Regions from separate parts of the Homo sapiens genome. Here regions 2, 3, 4, 5, 6 and 7 are each linked to region 1. Evidence: promoter capture Hi-C in 16 types of primary human blood cells and fetal thymus (Javierre and others, 2016). All regions are on one chromosome and are shown on one strand. Each heading gives the region's core, a stretch centred on a gene start or on the middle of the fragment in contact. The rest is flanking DNA. Distances are from core to core; before and after follow the strand shown.

Region 1 (4,352 bases), core at 942-3,441:
CTTATCTATTTAGATCTCAGAATAAATAAATACATAAAATAAAAAATATTTATTTATGTTTCCTCCATGTCTTTTCATGGCTTGCTAAGATCATTTCTTTTTGGCACCAAATAATATTCCATTGTTTGGATACAGCACAGTTTATTCAGCTACTGAAGGACATCTTGGTCTTTTTTTTTTTGAGACGGAGTCTCACTCTGTCCCCCAGGTTGGGGTGCAGTGGCATGATCTTGGCTCACCACAACCTCTGCCTCCTGGGTTCAAGCAATTTTCTGCCTCCGCCTCCTGAGTAGCTGGGATTACAGGCGCCCACCATCACGCCTGGCTAATTTTTGTATTTTTAGTAGAGATGGGGGTTTCACCATCTTGGCCAGGCTGGTCTTGAACTCCTGACATCGTGATCTGCCCACCTCGGGCTCCCAAAGTGCTGGAATTACAGGCGTGAGCTACCATACCCGGCCCGTCCTTAAGTTTTGGCAATTATGAATAATGCAGCTATAAACATACTTGTGCAGGTTTTTGTGTGAACATAGTTTTCAACTCCTTTAGGTAAATATCAAGGAGTGTAATTGCTGAATTGTATGGTAATAATATATTTCTTTTTTTTTTTTTGAGACAGAGTTTCCATCTTGTTGCCCAAGCTAGAGTGCAATGGTGCGATCTCAGCTCACTGCAACCTCCGCCTCCTGAGTTCAAGCGATTCTCCTGCCTCAGCCTCCCAAGTAGCTGGGATTACAGGCGCGTGCCACCACGTCTGGGTAATTTTTTGTATTTTTAGTAGAGACGGGGTTTCACCATGTTGGCCAGGCTGGTCTCAAACTCCTGACCTCATGATCCGCCCACCTCGGCCTCCCAAAGTGCTGGGATTACAGGCGTGAGCCACTGCGCCCGGCCGGTAATAGTATATTTCATTGTGTAAAAAACAAAACAAAAAAACAAATTGGGCAGGGCATGGTGGCTCATGCCTATAATCCCAGTACTTTGGGAGGCCTAGGCAGGCAAATCACTTGAGGTCAGGAGTTCAAGGCCAACAGGCAAAAACCCCGTCAAAAAAATTAGTCTGGCATGATGTCAAGCACTCGTAGGCCCAGCTACTCGGGAGGCTGATGCAGGAGAATCGCTTGAACCCTGCAACAGAGTGAGACTCTCTCTCAAACAAAATAAAACAAAACGGAAAAACTATTAGAGGCTGGGAGCGGTGGCTCACGCCTGTAATCTCAACACAGAGGCGGAGGCGGGCGGATCACGAAGTCAAGAGTTCGAGACCAGCCTGGCCAACATAGTGAAACCCCGTACTCTACTAAAAATACAAAAAATAAGCCGGGCATGGTGGCGTGCGCCAGTAATCCCAGCTACTCGGGAGGCTGAGGCAGGAGAATCGCTTGAACCCGGGTGGCGGAGGTTGCGGTGAGCAGCGATCGCGCCATTGCACTCCAGCCTGGGCGACAGAGCAAGACTCCGTCTCAAAAAACAAACAAACAAACAAAAAGCAAAAAAACTATTAGAGCCTGGGCAACATAGTGAAATCTTGTCTCTACCCCCCACCCCCAAAAAAATTAGCCTGGGTGCGGTGGGATGCACCTGTAGTCCCAGCTACTTGGGATACTGAAGTGGGAGGATTGCTTGAGCCTGGGAGGTCGAGGCTGCAGTGAACTGTGTTCACGCCACCGCACTCCAGCCTGTGCGACAGAGCGAGACTCTGTCAAAACCAAACCAAACCAAAACAAAAAAAACCTATGATCCGGTTTCTTGAAGCAGATCCTATGGCAAGCCATCAAGCCAGAGCGGTAAGAAGTAGGAAGATGGTGCTTTTAGATCCACTACATTCCCAGGATCAAATGTAGAACAATATTTAGTCCCTAAAGTGATTCTCTTTCCATTATTGTCAACTGCGTGGTCGGTGCAACGTGAAAGGGCCACAACTATGTGAAGGAAACACTTAGAATATAACACCAAAGGAGGCAATCGCTGCCTTAGACTTCCTAAAGATCTAAAGAACTCTTAGATGCTTGGTGAAATCGCTCTCTGCCGCTGGTGCGACTCAGGCGCGGTCGCGAGGAAGGTCCAGGGTGAACGCGCGTAGGCTGGGAGTCCGCGTTGGGGCGCTCCCTGGCTTGCAGGCCGCTCCGAGTGGGTGGGCCGGGGGCGGGGCCGGCGGCAGGGAGCGGACTCCGCCCCCGGGGCGGGTCCAGTCGGGCCGCGGCGCGTCGCTGCGCCGCACGTGTGCGAGCCCGGCCGCCGGTGAGTCGGCTGGAGCGCATCTGGTCCTCCGCGCGGAAAGCGCTGCTTTTGCCTGGCCGCCCTAGCCGCTGGCTCATCCAAGTGGCCTTCGCCGCTCTCTTGCGTCCCAACCAGAGCGCTGGCCACCTCGCCGCCCAGCTCACGCCGCGCCCGCGCTCCCAGGCTCCGGGTAAGTGCGCGGCCTCCCCGCGGCCGCCGGGGCTCCTCGGCCTGGCCCTGGCCCCAGCCCCAGCCCCAGGGCCCCGCCCCAAGAGGCAGTGCGGACTGGGAAGGCGGACTGGGAAGGCGGCCCCGCAGTGGTCAGAGCCCGCGGCGCCTCCATTATGGATCGTGCCAGCGGGAGCACGGTTGGAACCCAGTGGGTCCTGCGCTTCGGCGGTGCAGGCGCCGCTCTCCGCTCCCCGCTCCCCGCTCCGCTCTGCCCGGCCAGTCGTCCGGAGGCGCCGCGCCCGAGCGCTCCCCTCCTCCCCGCGCGGCGCTGTCCCCCGGGGGCCCCCTTCCCACTCCTCCCTTTCTTTGCCCCGGACGCTCCCTAAACTCTTGTCCCTCCGTCAGAGGAACACTGGCCCTGAAGCCCTTCACGGTGCCACTGCTTCGCCGCGCCTGCCTTCTGTGGGTCCAGCCCACGTGTTCCACCCCTGTGTCCTGCGTCGCCGCTCACTGGGAGCCTACTAGGCGCCACGCGGGCTCTGGGGACTGCTTGCTTTGTATGCATTTCCCAGAGTAGGAGTGGACGGGCTGCAGACTCAGAGTGCTTTCTCCAGCCCTCAAGCTGGGTGAATGCTTAACGAGTGGATGGAGGTGCTGCTGTGCAAGCTGAAATTCGAGTCCTCCTCGTCAGCCCTGCGCAGAGGTGTTTAGAAGCACACCTTCGTTGCCTGCCGAGTAGGGTTGGCAAAGAGTTTAGTTTTTAAAATATTTGGTCCCGTCAGACTACTTTTTTTTTCCATTCCAAAAATAAAGGGTTACTAAGGTTCCCTCCCCCCCATCCCCAAGCCTCTAATCATCTATGAAATGACTATGCCCCATTGGCCTGGGGGAGCCTCGACTATTGAGGGATCTGTCGAAAATCAGACTGTACAACACTATTGAAAAGGGGTTGGTTAGGCAATTGTTAGGTTCAAACATTAGGAAAGTAGCCAACAGTACGTACTTAACAACTCCTTGTGAACATGTTTTTGGTTTTTTTATTTTTATTTTTTTAATTTTTTTGAGACAGAATTTTGCTCTTGTTGCCCAGGCTGGAGTGCAGTTGCGTGATCATCGCTCACTGCAGCCTTGAACTCCTGGGCTCAAGCAATCCTCTCACCTCAGCCTCCCAAGTAGCTGGGACTATAGGCATGTGCCACCACACAGGGTCTCGCTGTGTTGCCCAGCCTGGCCTCAAACTCCTGACCTTAAGCAATCCTCCTGCTTTGACCTCCCAAAGTGCTGGAATTACAGGCTTGAGCAACCACACTCGGCCTTGAACATATCTTTGTTTTTTGATTTATTTTTTTTAGACGGAGTCTCACTCCATCACCCAGGCTGGAGTGCAATGGCACGATCTTGGCTCACTGCAACCTCAGCCTCCTGGGTTCAAGCGATTCTCCTGCCTCAGCCTCCGGAGTAGCTGGGATTACATGTGCACGCCACCATGCCCAGCTAATTTTTGTATTTTTATTTATTTATTTATTTATTTATTTATTTATTTATTTATTTTGAGACAGTCTCGCTCTGTCGCCCACATGTATTGCAGAGGCAGCACCTCCATCCACTCGTTAAGCATTCACCCAGCTTGAGGGCTGGAGATGTATTGCAGTGGCGCGATCTCGGCTCACTGCAGGCTCCGCCTCCCGGGTTCACGCCATTCTCCTGCCTCAGCCTCCCGAGTAGCTGGGACTACAGGCGCCCGCCACCACGCCCGGCTAATTTTTTATATTTTTAGTAGAGGCGGGGTTTCACTGTGTTAGCCAGGATGGTCTCGATTTCCTGACCTCATGATCTGCCCGCCTCTGCCTCCCAAAGTGCTGGGATTACAGGCGTGAGCCACCGCGCCCCGCCTAATTTTTGTATTTTTAGTAGAGACGGGGTTTCACCATGTTGGCCAGGCTGGTCTTGAACTTCAGACT
Region 2 (4,352 bases), core at 547-3,046, 640 kb after region 1:
CTTACTTATAATACAATTCATCATGCACTCAGCTGCCAGGAGGAAGCTTAATTTAAGCTTCATCCAAGATGAAATACCTTTAAGAAACATATTATTTCATGTAACTATTAATATCAGTTTTTAAGAGTCCTCCAATATGAACTCTTTGATACATACTTTGGAAATGAGGGAACGTTAGAATGTTATGAAAAGAGATCTCGGCAAAACTATCTTGCCATAGTCTTGGCCAAGGTTAGAAAATGCTTTGGGAGCTCTTTTCCTTAACTCCAAACTCTTTTAGTTTCTCTTTGCTTTTTCTCTTAATTCTAGCTCTTTGTTTCAACTTGATCTGAATAAATTGGATCATCATAGAGTTGCCAGATTTAGCAAATAAAAATACAGAATGCCTAGTTAAATTTCCGATAAACATTGACAGTTTTTTAGTATAAGTAAGTCTCAAACATTGCGTGGTTTGCTCAGGACTTTTCTGGTTTTAGCACTGAAAGTTCTACATGCGGGAATGCCTTCAGTCCCAGGCAAATGAGGCAGCCAGTCGCCTTAACTACAATATAAATCATACCCTTCCCCCATCTTCAGGATTTATTTCCCACTAGGAAGTCTTGTGGGAGAGAAACTTTTAAAAATAACAGCTTTATTGAGACATAATTCACATATCATAAAACACCTCTTAAAAGTATACAATTCGGTGATTTTAGTATACCTATAGAGTTGTACAACTATCACCACTATCTAATTTTAGAATATTTTCATCACCATGAAAACCCCATACCTACTGTCAGTCACTCACCATTCTCCACTCCCCTCAGGCCCTGGATACCACTAAGATACTTTCTGTCTCTATGGATGTTTCCATTCTGGACATTTCATATAAATGAAATGTGGTACAGGCTGGGCACAGTGGCTCACGCCTGTAATCCCAGCACTTTGGGAGGCCAAGGTGGGCAGATCATCTGAGGTCAGGAGTTTGAGACTAGCCTGGCCAACATGATGAAACCTTGTCTCTACTAAAAATACAAAAATTAGCTGGGTGTGGTGGTGTGTGCCTGTAATCTCAGCTACTTGGGAGGCTGAGGCGGGAGAATCGCTGGAACCTGGGAGGTGAAGGCTGCAGTGAGCTGAGATCATGCCACTGCACTCCAGTCTGGGTGACAGAGTGAGACTCCATCTCTAAATAAATAAATAAGTAAATAAATAAATAAATGAAATGTAGTGCTTAGTGGTTGGATTCTTTCAGTTAGCCTAATGTTTTCAAGGTTCATCCATATGGTAGCATGTGTCAGTACTTCATCCTTTTTTATTGCCAAATAGTATTCTGTGTGGATATATAAATGCATACCTTGGAGATATTGAGGGTTTGGTTCCAGACCACTGCAATAAAGTGAATATCACAATAAAGACAGAAGTTTTCGTTTCCCAGTGCAAAAGCTATGTTTATAGCATCCTGTAGACTGGTAAGTGCGCAGTAGCATTACATCTAAAAAATATACATACTTAATTTAAAAATAAATTAATGAACGAATTTTTGCTGGTAAACATGGAGGTGTCCTGCCTCCATGTTGATGGCGGCTGACTGATGAGGGTGGTGGCTGCTGAAGGCTGAGGTGGCTGTGGAATTTCTAAAATAAGACCACAAGGAAGTTTCCTTTCATGGAAGATTTTTCTATAGCACGTGATGCTGTTTGATAGCATTTTAGTCACAATATGACTTCTTTCAAAATGGAAGTGCGTCTTCTCAAACCCTGCTGCTGCTTTATCAACTAAGTTTATGTAAAATTTGAAATACTTTGTTGTCACTTCAATGATGTTCACAGCAACTTCAGCAGGAGTAGGTTCCATCTCAAGAAACCACTTTCTTTGTTCATTCATAAGAAGCAACTCCTCATGTATTTGAATTTTATCATGAGATGGCAGCAATTCAGTCCCATCTTCAGGCTCCACTTCTAATTCTAGTTCTCTTGCTATTTCCACCACATCTGCATTACTTCCTCCACGGAAGTCTTGAAATCAAGTCAAGACTCAAAGTCATCCTTGAAGGCTGGAGTCAACTTCTTCCAAACTCTTGTTAATGTTGATATTTTTATAAATTCTATTAACTTTGAATTTTTATTAACTTCTATGAATCACAAAAGTTCTTAATGACATCTAGATTGAAGAATACTTTCCAGAAGGTTTTCAATTCACATTGCTGAGATCCATTAGGGGAAACACTATCTATGGCAGCAATAGCCTTACAAAAAGTATTTCTTTTTTTTTTTTTTTTTTTTGAGATGGAATCTCACTCTGTTGCCCAGGCTGGAGTGCAGTGGTGCTATCCCGGCTCACTGCAAGCTCCGCCTCCCAGGTTCACGCCATTCTCCTGCCTCAGCCTCCCAAGTAGCTGGGACTACAGGTGCCTGCTAGCACGCCCGGCTAATATTTTGTATTTTCAGTAGAGATGGGGTTTCATTGTGTTAGCCAGGAAGGTCTTGATCTCCTGACCTCGTGATTCACCCGCCTTGGCCTCCCAAAGTGCTGGGATTACAGGCATGAGCCACCGCGCCTGGCCACACAAAGTATTTCTTAAATAATAAGACTTGAAAGTAGAAATTACTCTCCTTGATCCATGGGCTGCAGAATGGACATTGGATTAACTGGCATGAAAACAACATTACTATTATTTTTTTATATACCTCCATTACAGCTCTTGGGTGACCAGCTGCATTGTCAATGAACAGTAATATTTTGAAAGAAAATTTTTTTGAAAGGAATCTTTTTTTTTTTTTCTCAGCAGTAGGTCTCAACAGTGGGCTTAAAATATTAAGTAAACCATGCTGTAAAGAGATGTGCTGTCACCCAGGCTTTGTTGTTCCATTTCTAGAGCTCAGGCAGAGTAGATTTAGAATAATCTGTAAGGACCCTAAGATTTTCAGAATGGTAAATGAGCACTGGCTTCAACTTAGTCCCCAGCTGTATCAGCCCCTGTATTATTCCGTTTGTGTTGCTATAAAGGAGTAACTGAGGCAGGGTAATTTATGCAGAAAGAGATTTATTTGGCTCATGGTTCTGCAGGCTGTACAAGCATGGCAGCAGCATCTCCTCCTGATGAGGCCTCAGGAGGCTTCCAATCTTGGTGGAAGGTAAAGGGGGAGCCAATGTATCACATGATGAGAGAGGGAGGGGGGAAGTGCCACACTCTTTTAAACAACCAGATCTCATGTGAACTTAGAGCAAGAACTCACTCATTACCATGAGGGCACCAGGCCATTCATGAGGGATCCACCCCCATGACTCAAACACCTCCCACTAAGGCCCCACCTCCAACACTGGGAATCACATTTCAACATGAGATTTAGAGGGGACAGATATCCAAACCTTATCAGCCCCTAAAAAGAGAGCCTGTCTTTGGTTTTTTTTTTTGAAGAGACAGAGTTCTCACTATGTTGCTATGTTGCCCAGGCTGGCCTCCAATTCCTGGGCTAAAGCCATCCTCCTGATTCAGCCACTTGAGTAGCTTGAGTTACTGGCATACCATCACACCTGGCTCTTTGAAGCTTCAAAGCCAGGCATTGACTTCTGTCTAGCTGTGAAAGTGCTACATGGCATCTTCTTCCAATGTAAGGCTGTTTTGTCTACACGAAAATCTGTTATTTGGTGTAGCCACGTTCATCAGTATTAGCTAGATCTTCTGGATAACTTGCTGTGGTTTCTCCATCAGCATTTGCTGCTTCATTTTGTAATTTTTTATTTTCTTTTAGAGACAGATTCTTGCTCTGCCACACATAGTTCACTGTGGCCTCGATCTCCTGGGCTTAAGTAATCCTCCTACCTCAGCCTCTCGAGTAGCTAGGACTACAAGTGTGTGCCACCATACCCAACTAATTTTTTAAAATTTTATTTTGTGGAGATGGGATCTTGCCACATTGCCTAGGCTGGTCTCGAACTCCTAGCCTCAGGTGATGCTCCTGCCTTAGACTCTCAAAGCACTGGGATTACAGTCATGAGATATTGCCCCTAGTCCACCTTAAAATTTTTTTTTTTTGAGACAGGGTCTCACTCTGTTGCACAGACCAGAGCATAGTGGTGCAATCTCAACTCACTGCAACCCTTGCCTCCCAGGCTCAAGCAATCCTCCCACCTTAGCCTCCCAAGGAGCTGGTACTACAGGTATGTGCCACCATGCCCAGCTAACTTTTGCATATTTTGTAGAGATGGGGTCTCGCATATTGCCCAGGCTGGTCTTGAATTCCTGGATTCCAGTGATCTGCCCACCTTGGCCTCCCAAAATGCTGGGATTACAGGTGTGAGCCACCATGGCCAGCCCCTACCTTGCACTTTTATGTCACAGAGATGGCTTCTTTCCTTAAGCTTCATGA
Region 3 (4,352 bases), core at 1,180-3,679, 600 kb before region 1:
CTAATGGCTTTAGGAATCACATGCTTTGCTAAGTAAGTGTTTAGGACTATGCATGCATAGTACATATTTATAGTACCACCTTAACACTGAGCAACAAGTCCTCAAGGGCTTACTTTGGAGTTTCGTGCATGGGATCCCCATGCTATGCTTTTTTTTTTTTTTTTTTTTTTTTGAGACAGGGTCTTGCTTTGTCACCCAGGTTGGAGTGCAGTGATGCAATCACAGCTCACTACAGTCTTGACCTCCCAGGCTCAAGCAATCCTCCCACCTCAGCCTCCCAAGTAGCTAGGACTACAGGCATGCACCACTGTGCCCAGCTAATGTGTGTGTGTGTGTGTGTGTGTGTGTGTGTGTGTTTAGTGAGATAAGGTCTTGCCATGTTCCCCAAGATGGTCTCAAATTCCTGGGCTCAAGCAATCCTCCCAAAGTGCTGGGATTACAGGCATGAGCCACTGCATGCAGCCCCCACACTATTAAACTTAAAAGGAATTCTGTTCACCACTCTCCCTCTTCTCATTACCTAAGTTACTGATGTTGAAATGGTGCGAATTCACTCTCCTACGTGGAGCATCTTCAGTCAGTTTTCTTGTTAGTTTATTTCCACGGCTCTGGGCATATTCCTCATTCCTCTCTCCTTGTCACCAGCTGCTTCATGACTAATCACATTTCCCTGTTTTCTTCTTCTCAGGCCAGTCTATTAGAATTCTCAAGCCTGGAATTTTGGGATATATAACAGGAGGGTGGGCATCGTATAGTGGGTGGGCATAGCAAACAGAAGGTAGGGTTTAACATTAAACCACACAGGCAGCAGTTAATCACACCTGTTTAATTATTAGAATTGGCTCTGAGGAGCCCCTCAGTGTTTAGAATGTTGAGTCTACAGAATTTCTCTTTTTTTTTCAATGGTGAAAGGAAGTTTTATTATCTTAACTTGACCCAAATTATAATATTATTTATAAAAGTTATATAAATGCAGGTTGATTGTTTTGAAAGAGTCAAAAAGCCAAATAAAAATAAAGCACTAGAAATAAATTCAGTTATAAGCAGTTGACATCATTCTTCTAAATGTTATGTGGAATCATAGGAAGAAACATCATTGCAATCATTTTCAAAGTAATATTAAAGGTATCAGAAGAAATGTTGGGTCTTAAATGTCAATTTGAATGTACAGTGTCTACAATAATAGATCAGAGAGAAAGTAAGTATATCTGTAAAGGAAAAAAGGCCGGGTATGGTGGCTCACGCCTGTAATCCCAGCACTTTGGGAGGCCAAGGCGGGCAGATCATGAGGTCAGGAGTTCGAGACCAGCCTGGCCAACATAATGAAACCCTGTCTCTACTAAAAATACAAAAAAGAAAAAAAAAATTAGCCTGACATGGTGTCAGGTGCCTGCTACTCAGGAGGCTAAGGCAGGAGAATCGCTTGAACCCAGGAGGTGGAGGTTGCAGTGAGCCAAGATCGCACCATTGCACTCAAGCCTGGGCAACAAGAGCGAGACACCATCTCCAAAAACAAAAGGCAGGAAAAAATGGCTGGGTGCAGTGGCTCACACCTGTAATCCCAGCACTTTGGGAGGACGAGGCGGGAGGATAACGAGGTCAGGAGTTCAAGACCAGCCTGACCAACATGGTGAAACCCTGTCTCTACTGAAAACACAAAAATTAGCACTTGTAGTCCCAACTACTCGGGAGGCAGAGGCAGGAGAATTGCTTGAACCTGGGAGACGGAGGTTGCAGTGAGCCGAGATTGCGCCACTGCACTCCAGCTCAGGCGACCGAGCAAGACTCTGTCTAAAAAAAAAAAAAAAAAAAAAAAAAAATCAGGAAAAAATGAGTTAGTTTCTAGTACTGTAAGTACTGTATCCTTCAATGAAAGAAGAACACAGATTAAGGATAAAACGACAGTCTTATCAACTAGGCCACCTTTAAGAATCATTTATCAGGGTAGCTAAAAGGAGCAACAATAAAGCTCTACATACATAACTGAAATGTTTACCATTAATCTAGTCCCAGCACTTTTATTTGTAGAGTTCTCAAATCAAAGTAACAACTAATTATACATCAGGATTGTTAGGAATACCAAATATTATTTTACAACTGCCACTATGTGTTTCTTCTTCTCTGACACAATTGGCACAGATCCAGGCTTGCTGTGTTTAACGTGATTCACTTCCTCTCATCGACAAGCTTCTTTCATGATGCACTGTTCCTGAATTGGGCTGTAGACAGAATTTGGTAGATGTCAATGACGAGCTATCGGTTGTATATGAGGATGACGCTGAAATTTCTCCTTCAGTTTCTGGTTATAATACTTGGCTGCTTTTTCTTGTGATGTAAGCATACCAAATTTTGCAGAAGCATTAGCTTTCCATAGGTAACTGTTCATTTCATCAGATCCATACATAATATACTTGCTGTCAGAAGTCCATTTTACACACATAACATGTTGCTTTCACTTTGTGTGATATACCTCCCTGCTTTGACTTTTATCTACAGGAAAGATTCAAATAGATTTATTGAAACTAGCAGACACAAACTCTTTCCCAGTGGGAGAGTAATCCACATCAAGCACTGCAGATACATGATCCATATGGACCATTACATGAGTGCACGCATATCAAAAGTAAATAAGTTATAATCATCATTTGCTGCCATAAAAATGAAAGCTTCCATAGGGTTTCAACAGACTGTATTTGTTCTCATATCTAAGATAACCTTTTTCAGAGGAGTAGCTTGCCTCATATCATACAGTACTGTAGTCCTGTCGGAAGCACAACTTCCCAAGATAAATGTCTCAATTGCATTAAATTTACCACTACTTATACTGTCAAATCTCCAGGTCATTGAACTTATAGGATTAGTTATTTGTTCATCCCAAATGTCTACTTGCTGTCCACATGTGGCAAAAACAGCTTCTTTCCAGTGATGATCAATCCCAGTATACACTGTCTTTCCTAATATTGTATGTAATGGCCCTTCCTCCTCTCCGTAGCCTGGCCCATCCATTTTCCACTGCTTCACAGTTTTGTCATCACCAACAGTGAAAAAAGAAGTCCCACAAAAGTGAGCACGTATTCCCTGTACAAAACCTTCATGTGCTTGTATTATACGGATACATTTCAGCTGAGTCAGGTTCCAAATTCTAACTGCTCCATCACATCCCCTAGAAAGGAGAGTAGCCAGGATCTTTGGATGCTTTGCCAAGCAACTCACTCCATCTCGTGACCATCCAGCCAAGCCAGGCATGGTTTTGCAAATACTCCTTCCAGTTTGGTAGCATTTAAAACTCTTACACATTCTTGCAGGACCTCAAAAGGATGTAAGGTAGGATCACAGTTTCTTGGAATAATCTGTAAGTCCAACTTGGTTTTGCGGACATAGTTGTCCGGATTCCAGCTCAATGTCTTCACCTTCACCTTCGTTGCTCTTCCTGCCAGACTCCACAAGCTCTTTGCTCTATAGAATTTCAAAGAGTACTGAGAGTGTCACAGGATTATCCCCAGAAATTTCCTCCTACAGGACCTGAGTCAATCATAGTTTTTATGTAGATTATGAAGACTGCAGCCCTTACCAATTTTTCTCTGTTTTGCCATAGATTTTGCAGGGCAATCTAATTGTAAAGCAGAAAACAAAAAAATATATATAAAAAGCACGTTTTGTGTTCTTCACTGCACTTATCACAACTTGAAAATATATATAGTTTTTGTCCTATCTTTCCCTTTATTTTATTTTATTTTATTTTATTTTATTCTATTCTATTGAGACAGGGCCTGGGTCTGTCACGCAGGCTGGAGTGCAGTGGTGTGATCTTGGCTCACTGCAACCTCCACCTCCTGGGCTCAAGCCATCCTCCCACTTCAGCCTCCCAAGTAGCTAGGACTACAAGCTCAGGCCACCACACCCAGCTAATTTTTGTATTTTTTGTAGAGATGGGGTTTCACCATGTTGCCCAGGCTGGACTCAAACTACAGAGCTCAAGCAATCCACCTGCCTTGGCCTTCCAAAGTGTTGGGATTACAGGCATGAGCCACTGCGCCCAGCCCTATCTCTCCCTTTAAAATAAACTCTTTGAGGTCTACTTTGTATGATCAGCACTTAACAAAGTGTCCAGTACATATGAGTGATCAGTAAATGCTAGAAGGAATGTATGAAATGTTCAGGTTTTTCTTCTCAAATGATTGGCAAATAATGAAATGAAAGATACTAAGAGTTCAGTCTTCCCCAAGCTAACTTGTATCATAAATCCAAGTTGCCTTAGCTCTGCTTTGCATTTTCCTTTTTTTCAATACTGAGCAGCTTCTCCATCATACTTCCCAGGCATTCACTATCCCTTTTACAGCTCTTTGGCAGCC
Region 4 (4,352 bases), core at 604-3,103, 590 kb after region 1:
CTCCGGGGGGCAAGTGGACATGTTTTGAGTAAGGAGGGTTCAGGAAATGCTCCTTTGAGTCAGGAGGAAAAGGATTTTCACATCACTGGTCCCTCCCACTGAGGAGGCAGCAGGCACCAGAAGCTTCAGTGGAAAGCAGTAACTAGAGAGGGGTTTCCAGGGCAGAGCTTGGCTACGCTGCCACGTTTGATGATGTCCTTCCATGTCTCTTTAAAAGAGTCTGGCCGGAAGCACCTGGGGCCTGGAAGAACGGTCTGCCCTTCAGCAGAGTTTCCTGCCCCTGTCTCCATGCCACCCTCCCCTGCCCACTTGCAGAAACAAAACGCTGTCTTCAAAGGCCTGTGTCAGGTGGACCAACTACTGGCCCACGCCCTGTGTGGCTGACCAGCCATTCCGCTTGGCTCATTGGAGCCGTAAGTGCCTCTGTTCTTCTGCTCAGGGCATCTCAGAGCCTTACCTTTGCCCTCCCAGGACCTGTGGCCCCAGCCCTGAGATGGGGTTCACTTTGGAGGCCCTCTGGCTTCTCAGGACTCCAGCTGTGTAGTATGCTGTGGCTGCCTTACCAAAGCACCACAAACTAGGTGGCTTAGAACAACAGAAGTATATTGTCTTGTAGCTCTGGAGGCTAGAAGTCTGAAAGTCACGTCTTTGGCAGGGCTGATTCCTTCTGAGATCTGTGAGGAAGCATCTATTGGAGACCTCTCTCTAGCTTCTGGTAGCCTCCTGCACTCCTTAGCTTGTAGACAACCTTCCTTTTGTGTCTTCACATCATCTTCTCTCCATCCATGTTGGTTTCTGTCCAAATGTTCCCTTTTTATAAAAACATCAGTCAAATTGGATTAGAGATGGGATTCAGAGAAGAACTTTGGTTGCTCCTCATTTTAACCTAATTACCTTGGTAAAGATCTCATCTCCGAATAAGGTATGTCAGGGCTCAGAAAACAGCAACCCAAAATGAAGGCCTCAGAAGCAACCAATTCCAGGTGGAGGTTATAGTGAGCCGAGATTGCACCACTGTACTCCAGCCTGGGTGAGAGAATGAGACCCTGTCTCAAAAAAAGAAAAAATGAAAGAAATTATCTGACCTACCTTGCTTGATTATAGTCATAAGACCCCCATTCCAGGGAGAGTCCTGCCCCACACCCAGAAGGAATGCCGGCTCAGGGAGGCCAAGAAGAATCTAGACAGAGAGGCCTTGCTGGGTTTCCCCCCTCAGTCTATTAGCAGTAGATCCCCTTTAGGTCCAATCATATTTCTACACGGTTGTCCATACTTTATTAAACTAAGCATAAAAATGGACAATTTCCCCTGCATCTTTGGGTCTTCATTGTGATGACTCCTGTGCATACATGTTAAATAAATGTGTGTTGCTTTTCTCCAGTTAACCTGCCTTTCAATGAGTTGAGTTGTCAGTGAAACTTGAGAGGGCAAAAGGGAACTTTTTCCTTGGCCTCTAGATGTCATATGCTGAGGTACTAGGGGTTAAGACTTTAACACAGAATTTTGCTGGGGTCATAATTCTACCTATGACAACAGTCTAGCCTCCTTCTGCAAGGGTAAATGTCCACTCTGTCATCACTGGGAATTCAGGAAGTGGGTGAACTTCTGAGGCTTCTGGGCTAGTAGTATTTGATAGAAATAATTGCTTAGTGGAGCTCACATAAATTCAGAATTTTCTGGAGCTACAGGCAGTACAGTGACCAACAAAACTCAGCCTTTGTGCCCTAGGAATTGTAATCCAATAGGACTTTTCTTTTCTTTTCTTTTCTTTTTTTTTGAGACGGAGTCTCGCTCTGTTGCCCAGGCCGGAGTGCAGTAGCACAATCTTGGCTCACTGCAACCTCCGCCTCCTGGGTTCAAGCAATCCTCTGCCTCAGCCTCCTGAGTAGCTGGGATTACAGGCACCCGCCAACACACCTGGCTAATTTTTGTATTTTTTGTAGAGGCGGGGTTTCACCATCTTGGCCAGGCTGGTCTTGAACTCCTGACCTAGTGATCCACCCGCCTTTGCCTCCCAAAGTTCTGGGATAACAGGTGTGAGCCACCGTGCCCGGCTCCAATAGCACTTTAACCAGATAATAAAATACAGGGTGAAAGGTACAAAGAACAAAGATATAGTCGAGAGAGTGCTTTCTTGTGGTTGCAAGATAAGTGACAGATTTATGGAGATTTGCTTTGAATAGTCCTTCTGATTCCAAAAGTAAAGATGAGAATGGCTGGGCATTCCAGGTGTAGAATTCCAGGGACAGGCGGGCATTCCACGGAAGACTAAATCACTTGAATGTCTGGGAGGTGGACAGAAGCAGCCAGGGTGAGAAAAGGGTAGGAGAGCAGGACACAGCCAAATGATGTGATGGCTTTTCCTGCCAGGCCAAAGAAGTGGCCTTTGATAGGCAAAGGGCATCCCTTGAGAGTTTTGTAGTAGGAGGGCAACAAAGCAAATCATCTGTCAAGGATATGAATCCCATTGGTAAGAATGGGCTAGGAGGAATTAAGGAGAAGGTGGGTGGGAAAGTGTAAACAGGAGGCTCTGACAGTTCAAATGTGAGAGGTAAAGGCCTCAGGGTAGTTGCTATGGAAATGGAAAGGGAGGAATGGGGGTGTGGGAAAGTGTTTGAAAAGAAAGAACCCAAGGCTGGGTGCGGTGGCTCACACCTGTAATCCCAGCACTTTGGGAGGCCGAGGTGGGCGGATCACTTGAGGTTAGGAGTTGGAGACCAGCCTGGCCACCATGGTGAAACCCCGTCTCTACTAAAAATACAAAAATTAGCTGGGCGTGGTGGCACGCTCCTGTAATCCCAGCTACTCGGGAGGCTGAGCCATGAGAATCACTTGAACTGGGGAGGAGGAGGGAGGTTGTAGTGAGTCGAGATTGTGCCATCATGCTCCAGCCTGGGCAAAAGAGCAAGACTGTGTCTCAAAAAAAAAAAAAAAAAAGAAAAGAAAAAGAAAAATCCCACAGAACTTGACAACGAAATAGATGTTTAGGAATGAGGGGAAAAAGAAAGAGAAGACAAAGATGGTTTCAGGTTTCCCAGTCTGGGCAATTTGGAGAGGGTGGGTACCATTAAGAGATTTGGAGAGGGTGGGTACCATTAAGAGAATGAGGCAGGTGAGTCAGGGGCGTGGCTGCTGGAACACTCCCTGCGGAGGGGAGAGGCTGGCAGTCAGTCCCTTCAATTGCCGAAAGCAGGAGTGACCTCTCCCCTTCCCCTCCCCTTGCCCCTTGTTCCTTTTTCCCTTGGAAGCTGTATCATTTAAATTAAACGCATTTAATCATTTAAAGGCACAGTATGGTCTCAAGGGTGTTCTTGATGTCACAATGAGGAAATGAGAAAGGGAAGGGCCTTAAAGTTATATCCCTTTCACGAGACTAAGGAGGAGGAGGTGATGAGAAACATGTAGTAATATACATCTGCAACTTCATTTCAGTCCAGTGCTGGGTCAGCACCCCCAGGACACCTTTGACACTGGACGTAGTGTCAAATGGGGCAAAATAGATACTTGCATTCAGTTCACAGGTCCTGGTATTTCTCCCTTTGAAATGCAGAAGATACAACTTTTGGTTCCTTATGAAAGCTTTTCGTCTCCTATGTGGAGAGGCTCTGGAGCACACCTGTGTGAATGTGTGTGTGTGTGTATGTGTATGCGGGTATGTGTATGTGTATGTGTGAATGTGTATGTACGTGTGCGTAGGCATGTGTGTATGCGTGTGTGTATGTGTGTATGTGTATGTGTGTGTATGTGTATGTATGCATGTTTGTGTGTATGTGTATGCATGTGTATGTGTGTACATGTGTGTATGTGTATGTATGCGTGTATGTGTATATGTGTGCATGTGCATGTGTGCGTGTATATGCCTGTGTGTATGCGTGTGTGTATGCATGCATGTATGTGTGGGTACGTGTATGTATGCATGTATGTGTGTGCATGTGTGCGTGTATGCATGTGTATGTGTGCATGTGTGCATGTGTGTATATGCATGTATATGTGTGCATGTATGCATGTGTGTATGTGTGTGTGTGTGTGTGTGTGTTCATCTATTTGGATCATTTCTCATCTCATCTCTTGCTTCCCAACCCTGCCTCAGCCCACTCTCACTGCAGGAGTGTTTTAACTACCTGCAAGCCAGTTTGAAGGCCCCTTGTCTAATCCAGCAGGACACTAATGGGTGTGTGTTTTGTGTGTGTGTGGTGCCAACAGTGTAATTGGGAAGTCACCTTCCACTAATAAAATACATGATGCTGGAAACAAGATCTAGCTGAAGCCACTTGTTTTGCCTCAGCTGTAGTTGTTGTCTCTGAGGGCTGAAAGGGGGAAGCCCAAATAAGAGATGATGTTGTGGTCCCTAT
Region 5 (4,352 bases), core at 796-3,295, 580 kb before region 1:
ATTTTTGAAGATTTCAGTTATCACTTTGATAAACTAAACCTTGGACAGAAAGAAATTTAAATAGATGATTTCAGATTAATGATGAAATTAAATAGCAATGAAGATCCTGCAACTAGAAACGTGTAAACAACACTCATAAACCAGGTGAATACTAGTATTCTCCAGTAGAATCCTCAGAATTAGCATGGTCTAGCAATAGAAGTTAAGGCTCCAAACTCTTTTTAAATTTTATTTATTTATTTTTTGAGACAGGGTCTCACTCTTGTCACCCAGGCTGGAGTGCAGTGGCACGATCACAACTAATTGCAGCCTTGACTTCCCCAGGCTCAAGCTTTTCTCTCACTTCAGTCTACTGGGTAGCTGGGACTGCAGGTACACACCACCACCCCCAGCTACTTCTATAATTTTTTATAGAGACAGAGTCCCACCATGTCACCCAGGCCAGTCTCGAACCCCTGGGCTCAAACGATCACCTGCCTTGGCCTCCCAAAATGCTGAGATGAACCACTGCACCCAGCCTCCAGAGTCTTTTTTTTTTTTGAGACAGAGTCTTACTCTGTCGCCCAGGCTGGAGTGCAGTGGCATGATCTCGGCTCACTGCAACTTCCGCCTCCCAGGTTCAAGCAATTCTCCTGCCTCAGCCTCCCAAGTAGCTGGGATTACAGGTGCCCACCACCACACCCAGCTAATTTTTTTTGATATTTTTAGTAGAGATGGGGTTTCACCATGTTGGCCAGGCTGGTTTCGAACACCTGACCTCAGGTGATCCACCCGGCTCAGCCTCCCAAAGTGCTGGGATTACAGGCATGAGCCACTGTGCCCAGCCTCCAGAGTCTTTTTTGCACTCCTATTAGTGCAAAATTTTATGGACAGAGCCACAATATGCATCTACAACTTAAGATGCATGTTTTACTATGTCAGTTAGTATCTTAAGGTATATTATATACTCAGTGCAAATTTTGTTTATATTTTTAAATCCTTGCTTCAGATACTATTCTGATAATTTTTTATTGTTGTGCCACCGTCTTGTGATCTGATTAAGTAGTCTGTTTTTACCTTGTAATATGGCTGTTGATTGTAATCATAGAGTAGTATGAATGCTTCCATTTTCTCTTTTATACATGAGTGTGTGTGTTACCAATCTATTTCTTTGAAGACATTTTAAAGCCATGGGTCAATTTTGTGAAGGTTGATTTGGTTAAAACTAGACAAATTATTCCATAAATCCAGGCCCACTCACATTGTAATGCATGAACACTAAAAGTGAAAGAATAGATGAGGTTATCACTGTCTGTCCTTCCATGTATGAGATTCCCCTTACCTTCAGGATACCCAGCATGCTGTACTGACATGTGACCTTCTGATGTGCATGCCCAGCATGGGTTTCAGTGGTATATTAATTGCAATAAAGCTTCAATTCCTTATTTAAGTCTGAAAGTAGATCTAAATAGAAGTTTACATATTTTCTTCTGGTACTCCAGTCTACTTTGGAGACTAGTGCTCTGGAAAACCAGGCTGTACTATTCACCCTGAGGTTACAATTCTCTGAATAAGATCTGCCATGGTGGTCATCTAGTATGGGTCTGGTGGGCAGAGAAGTAAGTGGGACTGTTTCTCTGGATACTTGGGGCTGTATGTGAACATGTAACTTTTCTGACTAAACAGAAGCTTGCTGTCACCCCGCCCCTGGATTCTTACTAGTCACTGTGCAGATAGAATTCCATGTCAGTAGTTTCAGTCATTCTTCATGGGGTAGGAGTATATGGGAAAATAAGTTTCAAAAGTGGCCAGAAAATATAAATCAGAACACCAGTACTCCTTCATTTTAGACTAGGGTTGGAAACTGAAATGGTCATAGGAACCACCCTCTAAAGTAAATGAGTGAAGCAAGATGTTTGGAAGAAAAAGAATAGTATGTCATTGATTACTTACTGGCAACTAACACACATCCTGAGGGCTGTTAAGACAATGGAGAAGCGGATAACCTGGAAAGCACATACTCTGCCATAAGTGACATCTGTCACTCAGTTCTCTCTGATTGTTGCTTTATGAGAATGTAGGTCTGATGTTGCCATTCTTCAGCTTTCCCATACACACTCAGGAAAAGCAGGAAATCCAAATTTTTATGTGTAATACCCTGATATTAAAACAATGACAACAAATTCACATTTTTTTGTAATACTGGAAAGGCCACACAAATATATTTGCAGGCCGGGTTTTACCAACAGGCTGCCAGTATATAACTTCCAGTCTAGATCAAAATAGCAGTAGAATATAGGGAGAAGTGAGATAGTTGGATATTTTGCCCTCATAATTTTGTACTTTGTTTAATATAAAATATGTGCTTTTGTCCCTTCTTTCTATAAGATAAAGACCAGAATTGCTGTCATGATATTTATCTATCCTTATAACAAAAAGCTTTAAAATAATAATTATGTAAGATTCAAAATATGGTTTTATTTATAAGTTATTGGAAATTATTTTTTCCTTAATTAAGTAGTTATTTAGTGAGCATCTGCTATGTGCCAGGTTTTCTGCTAGTCACTGAAAATCCTAAACAAAACCAGGTGCAAAGACATGACAGTCTGGCAAAGGAGCAGTAGAAGTGATAGTCTTGAAAGCAACAAGCTGTAGTGCAGTATGCCATTTATTTGCTACTTGTTATATTAGGAAATTCATTTTTCCATTTAATTTTTTTATTTTATTTTATTTTTAAGACAGGGTCTCACTGTGTTGCCCAAGCTGGTATTGAACTTCTGGGCTCAAACAATCCTCCTGCCACGGCCTCCCAAAGTGTTGGAATTACAGGCATAAGCCACTGCACCCGGCCCCATTTTATTTTTTAGAAAGCAAGTTACACAAGAAAAATGCCTATAGTAGAGTTCATATATAATAGAGTTAATGTCTATGATAGCTCAAGAGAAGAATCATGAGTTCTACCACAGGGAATTGGGTAGGGCCTTAAAAGATGAGCTAATCAGAGACAGGGCATTCCCAGAAGAAGAAGCATATACATTTAAGACATAAATACATGGTATGTTTCAGGAACAGTAAGCAGTATAATGTGACAGAATCATACAGTACCTGGCAGTGAATAGACTGCAGATAAATCTATCTAGAAAGATAAAGTTGAGGATCGATCAGCCATGCCTTTTATGCCAAATTAAGAAGTTGGAGCATTTTTTGTTTAATTTAGGTTGAAAAACAATTGAGGAAATTCCTTTAAATGGGAAGGACATGATCAGATTTTTATTTCAGATCAGTTTGGCATCATTCTAAACTAGCTCTGTCCAGTACAAAAAAATACAATGGGAAGCAAAAATGCAAACCACATAGTAATTTTCAGTGTTCTATTAACCACACTAAAATAAGAGGAAACAGGTGAAATTAATTTTAACAATATATTTTACTTAACCCAATCTATCCAGATTATTGTTTGAACAAGTCGTCAATATAAAAATTAATGAAGTATTTCACATCTTTTTCATAGTAAATCTTCAAAATCTAGTGTGTATTTTGCAGTTGGAGTATATATCAATTTAGATTAGTGACATGTAAAGTGTTCAAGACTCACAAGTAGCATTACTGGGTACTGCAGCTATAGTGCCCACATTATAGAAGATGAGTATCAATTGGAATGAAATTGGAAATGTGAGAAAGAGTCTGCTGGGTTAGTCCCAATGAAAAATGGTGAGGGCCTGAACAAAAATAGTGGCAGGTGTAATGTAGGCAGGTAAACAGAGCTTTTTAAAAAATGGTTTTATAGTCTAGGTAGTCATATGCAACATGGTTTTTATTTTGTTTTTGTTTTAACTCAGCATTGGATTTCTATGATTCATCTATGTTGATGTAGGCAGTTGTAATTCTTATATCTTTTTTGCCGTATAACTTCCCAGTGTAAGAATATACTATGGTATTTTATCCATTTCCCTGTTGCTTTTCCCCTCCCCATTTTTCATGAACATTCTTATATGTCTCTTAGTACGTGTGAGCAAGGGTTTCTCTTAGATCTATATACTAGTAAATCCTTTGTGACATTATGTTTATTATAAATATGTTCATCTAATTGGTAGCTTGTTTTACATTCAACAGCTGACTTGATTAAGATTTTTTTTCTGTAGTTGAATTTAACAATCTTTTATGGTTCTTTTTTACAAAAAAAAATCTTAAATTCTCCCTTTTCATGTGGTCACAGGTTTTCTTTTATATTGTCTTCACATTTTTTAAAGACTTTTTACTTTTGTGTGCAGCTCATCTGGACCATTTACTGAACAGCTCTTCCTTGTATTAGTTATCTATTGCTGTATAACAAATTACGCCGAGCTTAGCAGTTTAAAACAAAGGTCTGTTGA
Region 6 (4,352 bases), core at 1,117-3,616, 560 kb after region 1:
CTGTGGGCTGGGGATGCAAAAGGACACAAGATCATGAACATGTGGGAAGGACCTGGGACTGGGAGCTAAACAAACTGGACTCAAATTCTGGATTCACCAATTCCTAGCAGTGTGATCTCTCTGAGCATCTGTTTCCTCATCTGTGAAATGAGAAGCAAAATACCATCCTTCAGGATTGTCAATGAGGCATTGTATGTATATCACTCAGCACAGCCTGAAAGTAGTAGCTTAAGCCCCTCTACTTGGGAGAACACTGGATTAGGTCCACGTGACTGACAGCTAGGAACACAGAGTGAGAAAAATCAAGACTGAGGGGTGAGCCAAGGGATAACAGAAGAGACCGAAGCATCATGAGGAAAGAGAAGAGGAGACAGAGGAAAGCAGGGAGGAAGGACTTGCTCCTTTTTGTCCTCTAAGATAGATTTGGCAAAGACAAAAGACTCAAGAGGAAAATGAGACATTATTTTGCACCATCCAGGGGCAAGATTTTGCAAGTACTCAAGCTTCTCTCTTCCAGATATTAAAGGCATAGCAAAGGGGTTATATTATTACTACTGAATGCTAGAATACTATTTTTAAAACATTGATTTTGATTTTTTTCTTCTAGATTTTTTTTCTTCTATTCCATCTCCCCATTTGAACAGACAAACCATTCTTTGCTCCTATCTAAGAGATGGGTCTTACAAGCAGAAAGCAAAGTTTTTCAGTTTCAAAAGCCTGGGCCGGTGGTTCTCAAAGTATGGTCTCCAGACCACATCAGCATCACCTGGATACTCGTTAGAAAGGGAAATTCTTGGGCCCTACCCCAGACCTACTGAATCAGCACCTCTGGGGGTTGGGCTCCACGTTCTGTGTTTTAACAGGCCCTCCAGGTGACTCAGATGTAGGCTGCAGATTGAAAACCACTGGTCTAGATCCTTAGTGAACTGGAGAGAACAAACTGGTAAAAGATTTAGGAGAAAACATCAGGAATAACAGCAAAGCTCCTTACCTAAGTTAGAAAAATATTCTCTAGGCTGAGGGAGGAGGGGAGATAGAAGGGAAGTGATAAGACAGAGAGGTGGTGGGGACAGGAGGAGAGGGCTAGAAGTGAGTGCCAGCCTACATTTTAGTAAGCCCCTTTGCCTATGCCAGACCATTGGGTTAGTTGCCTTCTGGTAGGTGTCTAGTGAGGACTTATGCCTGACAGCAAGCAACAACCAGGACATTGTTTATTGGCTAACAGTCAGAGCAAAATGTTGGGTTTGTGTCCTCCCTATTCCATATGGACAGTCCTTCCTTACAACATCCTGGAATGCTCATTAACTCTTGAGAAGGAAGGTGAGGCCCTGGACCCCTAGTGACCTGATGGTTAGGGAAGGGAGAATAAGCCCTGCACTTGATTTTGGTGGGGATGAACAGAACCAACACAAGATTACCCCTGAGCCAGGGCAAGATAACACTCACCCCAATTATAATGACTACTTGTGTTGGAAATTGGCACTCAGCATTTATTCCAGTCTCCTCCTGGGTTGCCTTTCTGTAACAGTTGAAAGCTTAGAGAGGCTAGAAAGTTTAACTCTGCATTTCCCAGACTCCCTTCAAGTTGTGGATGTGCAGCTCACCATTGCGTTGCAGAAGGCAGAAGGAAGGCAGAGGCTCTTGGCCATCTTTTCTTGGCTTGCTTGGTCAAGCTTCATGTTGGTGGCAGCAGTGGTGGCTCTTCATTCCAACTTCCACATTTCTGGAGCGCAGCAACTTCGGCGTGTTCATGAGCTCAACAGCTCCAGTGACAGCCTCCTGACCCCTCAGCCTGCTAATCTGGGCTGAGGTTGTAGCTTCTGGAGGGAGGGAAATGAGGGTCAGTTCTGTGGCATTCAGGTAGACATTCCAGAAGGCCCCAGCCTACATGCTTATTCCTTCAGTACTTTCAACTATTTCATGAGCACCAACTTCCCTGTATTAATTCCTTCTTTGCTAAAAAACCCAGTCTGGAGCCGGGCGCGGTGGCTGACGCCTGTAATCCCTGCAATTTGGTAGGCTGAGGTGGGTGGATCACCTGAAGTTAGGAGTTCGAGACTAGACTGGCCAATATGGCAAAACCCCGTCTCTACTAAATATACAAAAAAAAATTAGCTGGGTGTGGTAGCGGGCGCCTGTAATCCCAGCTACTCAGGAGGCTGAGGCAGAAGAATGGCTTGAACCCAGGAGGCAGAAGTTACAGTGAGCCAAGATCGCGCCATTCCACTACAGCCTGGGTGACAGAGCAAGACTCCGTCTCAAAAAAAATAAATGAATAAAATAAAATGGTTCCTATTTCTTCCACTAAGGATATACTATTCAAAAAAAAAATCTGTCTTGAAATTTAACTGGAGTGACAGGATGGTTGCACAGAAATGCTTATGATTTCAGAAAATTGGGCCATATGCCAAGGAGCAATAGCAGTACATGCAGTCCATGTGTCAGAGGCTCAGAGGTGAGAGCGCTCACCACCCTGGCCTGGGTTAGGTTTTGGGGCAAGGCAGAACTTGAAGGAAATGTCTTCAAAGAGCAAGCAATGTGCTTTCTGGCTAGTTTTCCTGTTTCAGTTGACTTTGGCCTTGCCTTGCTCCCTGCTTCCTCTTTTCTGCCTCCATACCATCTCTTGTGCAACTCTGCTTACAGGGAACTCCCATCCCTGTCTCTTAAGAACCAAGCAAACCCCTTTTTCTTTTCCTCTTTTATCAGCCTGTCTCTTATTTCAGAATACACATTTCTGTATGCTTCAAAGTAGTTTACAGTTTTCAGTAAGCATGACCATGTTGGCGTTACTTATTTCAGAATGTGAGCCCCTGTTGACTGCCAAGCATTATCCCATGACCATGAGGACTCTCAACAATTGCTACATTATTTGTTAGGGGAGCTTCAAGGTCCAGCTTCCACTGTCTGAAGGAGCTTCAAGAAGCTGAATATGGCAATGTCTGCTGTCCCTACCCAAAAAGTATTTGATTAGCTCTGTCCACAAAGAGCAGAAATTTGAGATGACCCCTTCTGGGCCTGGAGAGCCAGCCTGAGACTAAACCTCCCTAGAAGAAGCTTTCTTTTTTTTTGAGACAGAGTCTTGTTCTGTCACCCAGGCTGGAGTGCAGTGGCATGATCTAGGCTCACTGCAAGCTCTGCTTCCCAGGTTCACACCATTCTCCTGCCTCAGCCTCCCAAGTAGCTGGGACTGCCGGCGCCCGCCACCATGCCCTGCTAATTTTTGTATTTTTAGTAGAGATGGGGTTTTGGCATGTTGGCCAGGTTGGTCTTGAACTCCTGACCTCAGGTGATCCGCCTGCCTCGGCCTCCGAAAGTGTTGGGATTACAGGCGTGAGCCACCGCGCCTGGCCGGAAGAAGCATTTTTAAATTTTCATTATTTTATTTATTTATTTTTGGTTTTTTTGAGATGGAGTCTCGCTCTGTCGCCCAGGCTGGAGTACAGTGGCACCATCTTGGCTCACTGCAAGCTCTGCCTCCCGGGTTCACGCCATTCTCCTGCCTCGGCCTCCCGAGTAGCTGGGACTACCGGCACCTGCCACCACACTCAGCTAATTTTTTTGTATTTTTAGTAGAGACGGGGTTTCACCATCTTAGCCAGGATGGTCTCAATCTCCTGACCTCATGATCCGCCTGCCTCGGCCTCCCAAAGTGCTGGAATTACAGGCGTGAGCCACCGTGCCCAGCCTGGAAGACGCATTTTTTACATCAAATCTCAGACAGGGCAGGAGGGAATTGCTCTGGATTATTATTATTATTATTATTATACTTTAAGTTCTGGGATACATGTGCAGAACGTGCAGGTTTGTTACATAGGTATACATGTGCCATGGTGGTTTGCTGCACCCATCAACCCGTCATCTAGGTTTTAAGCCCCGCATGCATTAGGTATTTCTCCTAATGCTATCCCTCCCCCTGCCCCCTACCCCCCAACAGGCCCTGGTGTATGATGTTCTCCTCCCTGTGTCCATGTGTTCTCATTGTTCAACTCCCACCCATGAGTGATAATATGCAGTATTAGGTTTTCTGTTCCTGTGTTAGTTTGCTGAGAATGATGTTTCTAGCTTCATCCATGTCCCTGCAAAGGACATGAACTCATTCTTTTTTATGGCTGCATAGTATTCCATGGTGTATATGTGCCAGATTTTCTGTATATGTGCCACATGTTCTTTACCCAATCTATCATTGATGGGGATTTGGGTTGGTTCCAAGTCTTTACTATTGTAAATAGTGCTGCAATAAACATACGTGTGCATTTGTCTTCTTTTTTTTGAGATGGAGTCTCGCCCTGTCACCCAGGCTGGAATGCAGTGGTGTGATCTCAGCTCACTGCAACCTCCGCCTCTCAGGTTCA
Region 7 (4,352 bases), core at 1,130-3,629, 550 kb before region 1:
GGTAAAATGGTGGTGATATTCTAGTTCTTGGTTGGGCCTTGGTTTTACCAGGTGTTCATTACTAAATGTGATATAAAGTAAAATAAGGCCATTCACGGGCCAATGATGATAGTGTGCCATGAATCAAGAATTTTTATTAATTGCATTCTGTGCATTTGAATTCCATTTTGTGAAAAAACAACAAAACTGTACGAATTGCAAAGAAATGTTCCTGAATCCCACTATCATAATGCAGCAAGCAGTTCCTCTTAAAAGTCTCAGTTAATGACCTGGAGCACGCTTTTATGCTTTCCAGTGAAGTGTGAAGTGTTGCCTCTCTTGTCAACAAACTGTCAGTCAGCACTGCACCACTTCCAGCAGTTCTGAGGTCAGGGGAAAGATTTTGAAAACCTTGGCTGGGAACTTTAAGACAGAAACAAAAAAGGTGTCAGCTAAGGTTTCTTAGGGACAGTTGTTCATTTGTTTATTTTAAAAATCTGGTTCCAAAAAAGTCTCATTTAAATTCTAGGAAAAAAACAAATGAGAGTATTGCAAAGCAAATGTTTATTCTAAGTGCCAGGTCACATTTATATTGTAATGTGTTTTATACTTTTCTTGGGTGTAATTTCTTATTAAACTATTCTTTATAACTTTATAAAACCCACAGTTTCCACATAGCAATGTCGAAAAGCATTTTGATTTAGAAATAGCGAAAAAAAAGTAGTTTGGGAGCTAGAATGAATGTGCATTTAGAGTAGCATCCCAGGCCGGGTACGGTGGCTCACGCCTATAATCCCATCACTTCTGGAGGCCAAGGAGTGGGCATTACTTGAGCCTGGGCAACAAAGTAAGACACTGTCTTTACAAAAAAAAAATCAAAAAATTAAGCAGGTAGTCCGGGCGTGGTGGCTAACGCCTGTAATCCTAGCACTTTGGAGGCCGAGGTGGGCGGCTCACCTGAGGTCAGGAGTTCAAGACCAACCTGGCCAACATGGTGAAACCCCATCTCTACTAAAAATATAAAAATTAGCCAGGTGTGGTGGTGGGCACCTGCAATCCCAGCTACTCAGGAGGCTGAGGCCGGAGAATTGCTTGAACCCAGGAGACGGAGGTTGCAGTGAGCCAACGTGGTGCCACTGCACTCCAGCCTGGGCGACAGAGTGAGACTCCGTCTCAAAAAAAAAAAAAAAAAAAAAAATTAGCCAGGTATAGTGGCATGTACCTATAGTCCCAGCTACTCGGGAGACTGAGGCAGGAGGATCACTTGAGTCCAGGAGGTTGATGCTGCAGCAAGCCATGATTGTGCCACTGCACTCCAGCCTGGGTGACAGACTGAGATCCTGTCTCAAAATAAATAAGTAAATCAGTGTTCCCTTAGATGTGAGACAAGCAAATGCACAATGTCCACTGTGTCACGAGCAGGGCTACAGAGATTGGAAAGTGAGGACTTAAGCACTGAAAGAAAACCTGTTTGCTAAGTCTCTGCCGTGCTTCCAAAGCTGAAGTATTCCTGAACTTCAGTTTCCCCATCTGTTGAACTCGGGAACTAAGATATGCCTTCCTTACCTCAGAGTTAGTGTATTGAGAAAGTAGATGTGAGCATGTTAGTGGCCAGGCACATTCTGCCCATTACACAGTAAACCAATCACTGAGATGATGAGTTTGGCAGTGGAGAAAAGATTTTATTCTTGAGGCAGCTAAGTGAGCAGCTAGAGAATGCCTCTCAGGTCTGCCTCCCCGTAGAAGAGGCTTTATGGATATTTATGGGGTAGAGTAGCAAGGCGGTCCGAGGCATGGGGAAAGGTGACTGGAGTAAGGGAAAACAAGGCAATGAGTGACCTGCACAAGTGTAGTCAAGCTTCATGGCTCTTAACAGGATGCACGTTAACAAAATGAGATCATTAGCGTGATCTGAGGGTGGAGTTTTTGGCCCTCCAACATCAAAAGGTCACCCACTGTGAAACGGGAGGTTTCCCTGAACCTCCTTGCAGGACATGCAACAAGGGTGTGGCTCGTCTGTTCAGCCACTGTGTGTGCTCAAACCCTTTACGGGAGAGGGAGCACGCAGGCAGGTGCAGGAATCAGGGTGAGCGCTTTTGGGCACCGGCCCACCAGTGGTGTCTAGGGGTAGGAGCCTGCAACTCCTGAAGCCCCAGTGGATGAGCTACAGTCCTCTTTTAGCTCTGCCATCCGCAGATGGCTTAAATGTTAAACAGCTCAGTGCCGTCTTGGTACCTGGATTCTTGTCCAGTGTCCAGGGAGAATCAGATCACACACAGACTTGAAGGATGGTGAATGTGGGGGTTTTATTGAGTGGTGGAGGTGGCTGTCAGCAGGGAGCCGGAAAGCGGATGGAGTGGGAAAATGACCTTTCCCTGGAGTTTGGCTGTCCAATGGCCTATCTCTCCTCCCTGACTGCCCCAGCCAAACTCCTCTTGATGTTCAGATGCTCCTTCTTTACTCTCCTTCTCTGCCACGCCGTTCTGCAGCTCTTCTGCTCTTCTGTTTGTCTGCTCATCTGCTTGTAGAGCCTGGGGCTTAGGGTTTATATGACTACAGGATAGGGGGCGTTCCAGACCAAAAGGCAACATTTGGGCATGAAAACAGGAATGCTTGTTCTCATTCCAGGCTGCAGGTTTCCAGGCTTTAGGGTGGGGCCTTTGCCAGGGAACCACCCTCTTCTACCCAGTATTTCCCTGTCTCCTGTCCATATCAACTGGACATTCACACAGGTCCAGTTGAAGGGCTGGTGGTCTCAGCTGGTTTGAAGTGGACAAGGACTGACCCCCACTTCCTGAAAAACAACTGTTACCATGGTGAGCAATGCCTTAGAGTTGTTAACTATAAGGAAGCTACTGGCAGATATATATTATTTAGCTATATGGATTTTAAAATCAGCTAGAAGCAAGCGGCTAAAAGCAAGCAAGGCAAGATAAGCTTGGTGGGCCTTATAAGTTTAGTCCTCAGTTTCCATCAACAGCCCATGGTCAAGCAAGAGGCAGCAGGTGGGGTAACAGGAAACCAGTGGGATGCAGACAGTGCGCCCATGCCCATTTTATAGTGCTTGGAGCATGAGTTTACTATTTATAATGACCACGGAGTTTAGAGCTATTTTATTATTGCATTCCTGACAGAAATTATCAAATCATATCTGATGTGCTTGATGTCAAGTCCCTAACCCAGAATGTAAGTCCAAATTTATAACTTCATTATTTGTTTGTTTGTTTGTTTGTTTGTTTTGAGAGGAAGTTTCAGTCTTGTTGCCTAGGCTGGAGTGCAATGGCAAGATCTTAGCTCACTGCAACCTCTGCCTCCTGGATTCAAGCAATTCTCCTGCCTCCGCCTCCTAAGTAGCTGGGATTACAGGCGCAAGCCACCACGCCTGGCTAATTTTTGTATTTTCAGTAGAGACAGGGTTTCACCATGTTAGCCAGGCTGGTCTCAAACTCCTAACATCAGGTGATCCACCCACCTCAGCTTCCCAAAGTGCTGGGATTACAGGCGTGAGCCAATGCACCCGGCTATAACCTCATTATTATGATAAAAAACATACAAACCAGTTTGCAGAAACCTGTTTTATGATGCTCCAATTTATGTGGCAATTTCTAGAAAAAAATTTATGGTGATAAGTGAGAATTGTCAGTCACTGAAACATTAATTACATAGTCAGTGAAGAGCAGGTAAAATATACTTCTGGGCTTCACTTTACATTAGAGATGTTTTTCTGAAACGGTGCCTATGAAACAAATCCTTGTCCCCATTACTTCATATTTATCATTTCAAAGGCACTTTATCTTTATTTCTGGTTGATCACCCTTTGAGGGTGGCATTCCAAAATGTCAGCTCAAAATTTCCCTGCCCTTCGGTTTCTGTGACAAGTAAGTTAACGATCTGTAAATAAATCCTGAAATGTCCTCAGGAATCTGCCACTTGAAGGAATTCTATTAGGATTCTTCCAAAATGCAAACACTTGGCGTGTCATGGGCCTGCCTGAAGTTGTACGCTGGGCTTTCTGGAGGGCAGCAGACCCCTAAGAATAGAGCCCGGGCTTTCCTTTAGTTCCTCTCATTGTTTTTCAGGGACAAAAATCGTTATCTTATATTTTTTTTTTCCAGAGGAGTAGGAGGAAGATCTAAAATAGTTAGGTCTGGCAGCTTAATCTGGGTTGGCTGTCTCTGCCGGCAATCTGTAAAATGTGTTTTTCAAGGATAAGAAGTTTGGGCCCTGGGCCAGAGCTCATGTCTGTCATCAGCGGGAAAATAAATGATCTCTGTAACCTGCTGCTATGCTCTGTTTACCTTTGTGCTTAAACATGAACACCTTGCCTTCCATAGGCCCAGAGCTGCTCAAAGTGGATCCTTTGCTCTTGTCAA

The links. The method cuts DNA at HindIII sites, captures the fragments that hold promoters and counts their contacts. A CHiCAGO score of 5 or more calls a contact.
Region 2: a contact is called between a fragment that was not itself captured here and the fragment with the promoter of PUS7 in region 1, in 1 of 17 cell types (total CD4 T cells). The highest score is 6.6, in total CD4 T cells.
Region 3: a contact is called between a fragment that was not itself captured here and the fragment with the promoter of PUS7 in region 1, in 1 of 17 cell types (naive B cells). The highest score is 5.1, in naive B cells.
Region 4: a contact is called between a fragment that was not itself captured here and the fragment with the promoter of PUS7 in region 1, in 4 of 17 cell types (naive CD8 T cells, total CD4 T cells, activated CD4 T cells and 1 more). The highest score is 5.7, in naive CD8 T cells.
Region 5: a contact is called between a fragment that was not itself captured here and the fragment with the promoter of PUS7 in region 1, in 1 of 17 cell types (fetal thymus). The highest score is 5.1, in fetal thymus.
Region 6: a contact is called between a fragment that was not itself captured here and the fragment with the promoter of PUS7 in region 1, in 6 of 17 cell types (neutrophils, total CD4 T cells, fetal thymus and 3 more). The highest score is 9.1, in neutrophils.
Region 7: a fragment that was not itself captured here is called in contact with the fragment with the promoter of PUS7 in region 1 in 1 of 17 cell types (naive CD8 T cells); the score reaches 5.3 in naive CD8 T cells.

What each region holds. Positions count from the first base shown.
Region 1 is chr7:105,520,110-105,524,461 of GRCh38, reverse strand. PUS7 (pseudouridine synthase 7) reads left to right here and starts at 2,191. Exons shown (of 16, transcript NM_019042.5): 1 at 2,191-2,410. RefSeq lists enhancers at 926-1,426, 2,710-3,364, 3,679-4,296 and silencers at 2,063-2,812, 3,022-3,167. The HindIII fragment of the contact is 10,027 bases long and covers 1-4,352 here.
Region 2 is chr7:104,879,082-104,883,433 of GRCh38, reverse strand. The region is part of intron 2 of LHFPL3 (LHFPL tetraspan subfamily member 3); the gene reads right to left. Among named protein-coding and RNA genes, the nearest start is that of LHFPL3-AS2, 45 kb to the left of the region's middle. The HindIII fragment of the contact is 3,473 bases long and covers 60-3,532 here.
Region 3 is chr7:106,124,435-106,128,786 of GRCh38, reverse strand. It overlaps the pseudogene DCAF13P1. Among named protein-coding and RNA genes, the nearest start is that of SYPL1, 14 kb to the right of the region's middle. The HindIII fragment of the contact is 479 bases long and covers 2,190-2,668 here.
Region 4 is chr7:104,932,658-104,937,009 of GRCh38, reverse strand. No RefSeq gene overlaps it. Among named protein-coding and RNA genes, the nearest start is that of LHFPL3-AS2, 8.2 kb to the right of the region's middle. RefSeq lists a silencer at 1,799-1,963. The HindIII fragment of the contact is 3,456 bases long and covers 126-3,581 here.
Region 5 is chr7:106,102,740-106,107,091 of GRCh38, reverse strand. The region is part of intron 1 of SYPL1 (synaptophysin like 1); the gene reads left to right. Among named protein-coding and RNA genes, the nearest start is that of SYPL1, 7.4 kb to the left of the region's middle. The HindIII fragment of the contact is 750 bases long and covers 1,671-2,420 here.
Region 6 is chr7:104,959,452-104,963,803 of GRCh38, reverse strand. It overlaps LOC101927902 (a long non-coding RNA gene), which reads right to left. Exons shown (of 2, transcript NR_187679.1): 2 at 1,470-1,820. Among named protein-coding and RNA genes, the nearest start is that of LINC01004, 30 kb to the left of the region's middle. RefSeq lists an enhancer at 2,381-2,450. The HindIII fragment of the contact is 1,381 bases long and covers 1,676-3,056 here.
Region 7 is chr7:106,072,096-106,076,447 of GRCh38, reverse strand. No RefSeq gene overlaps it. Among named protein-coding and RNA genes, the nearest start is that of SYPL1, 38 kb to the left of the region's middle. RefSeq lists an enhancer at 4,071-4,352. The HindIII fragment of the contact is 1,079 bases long and covers 1,840-2,918 here.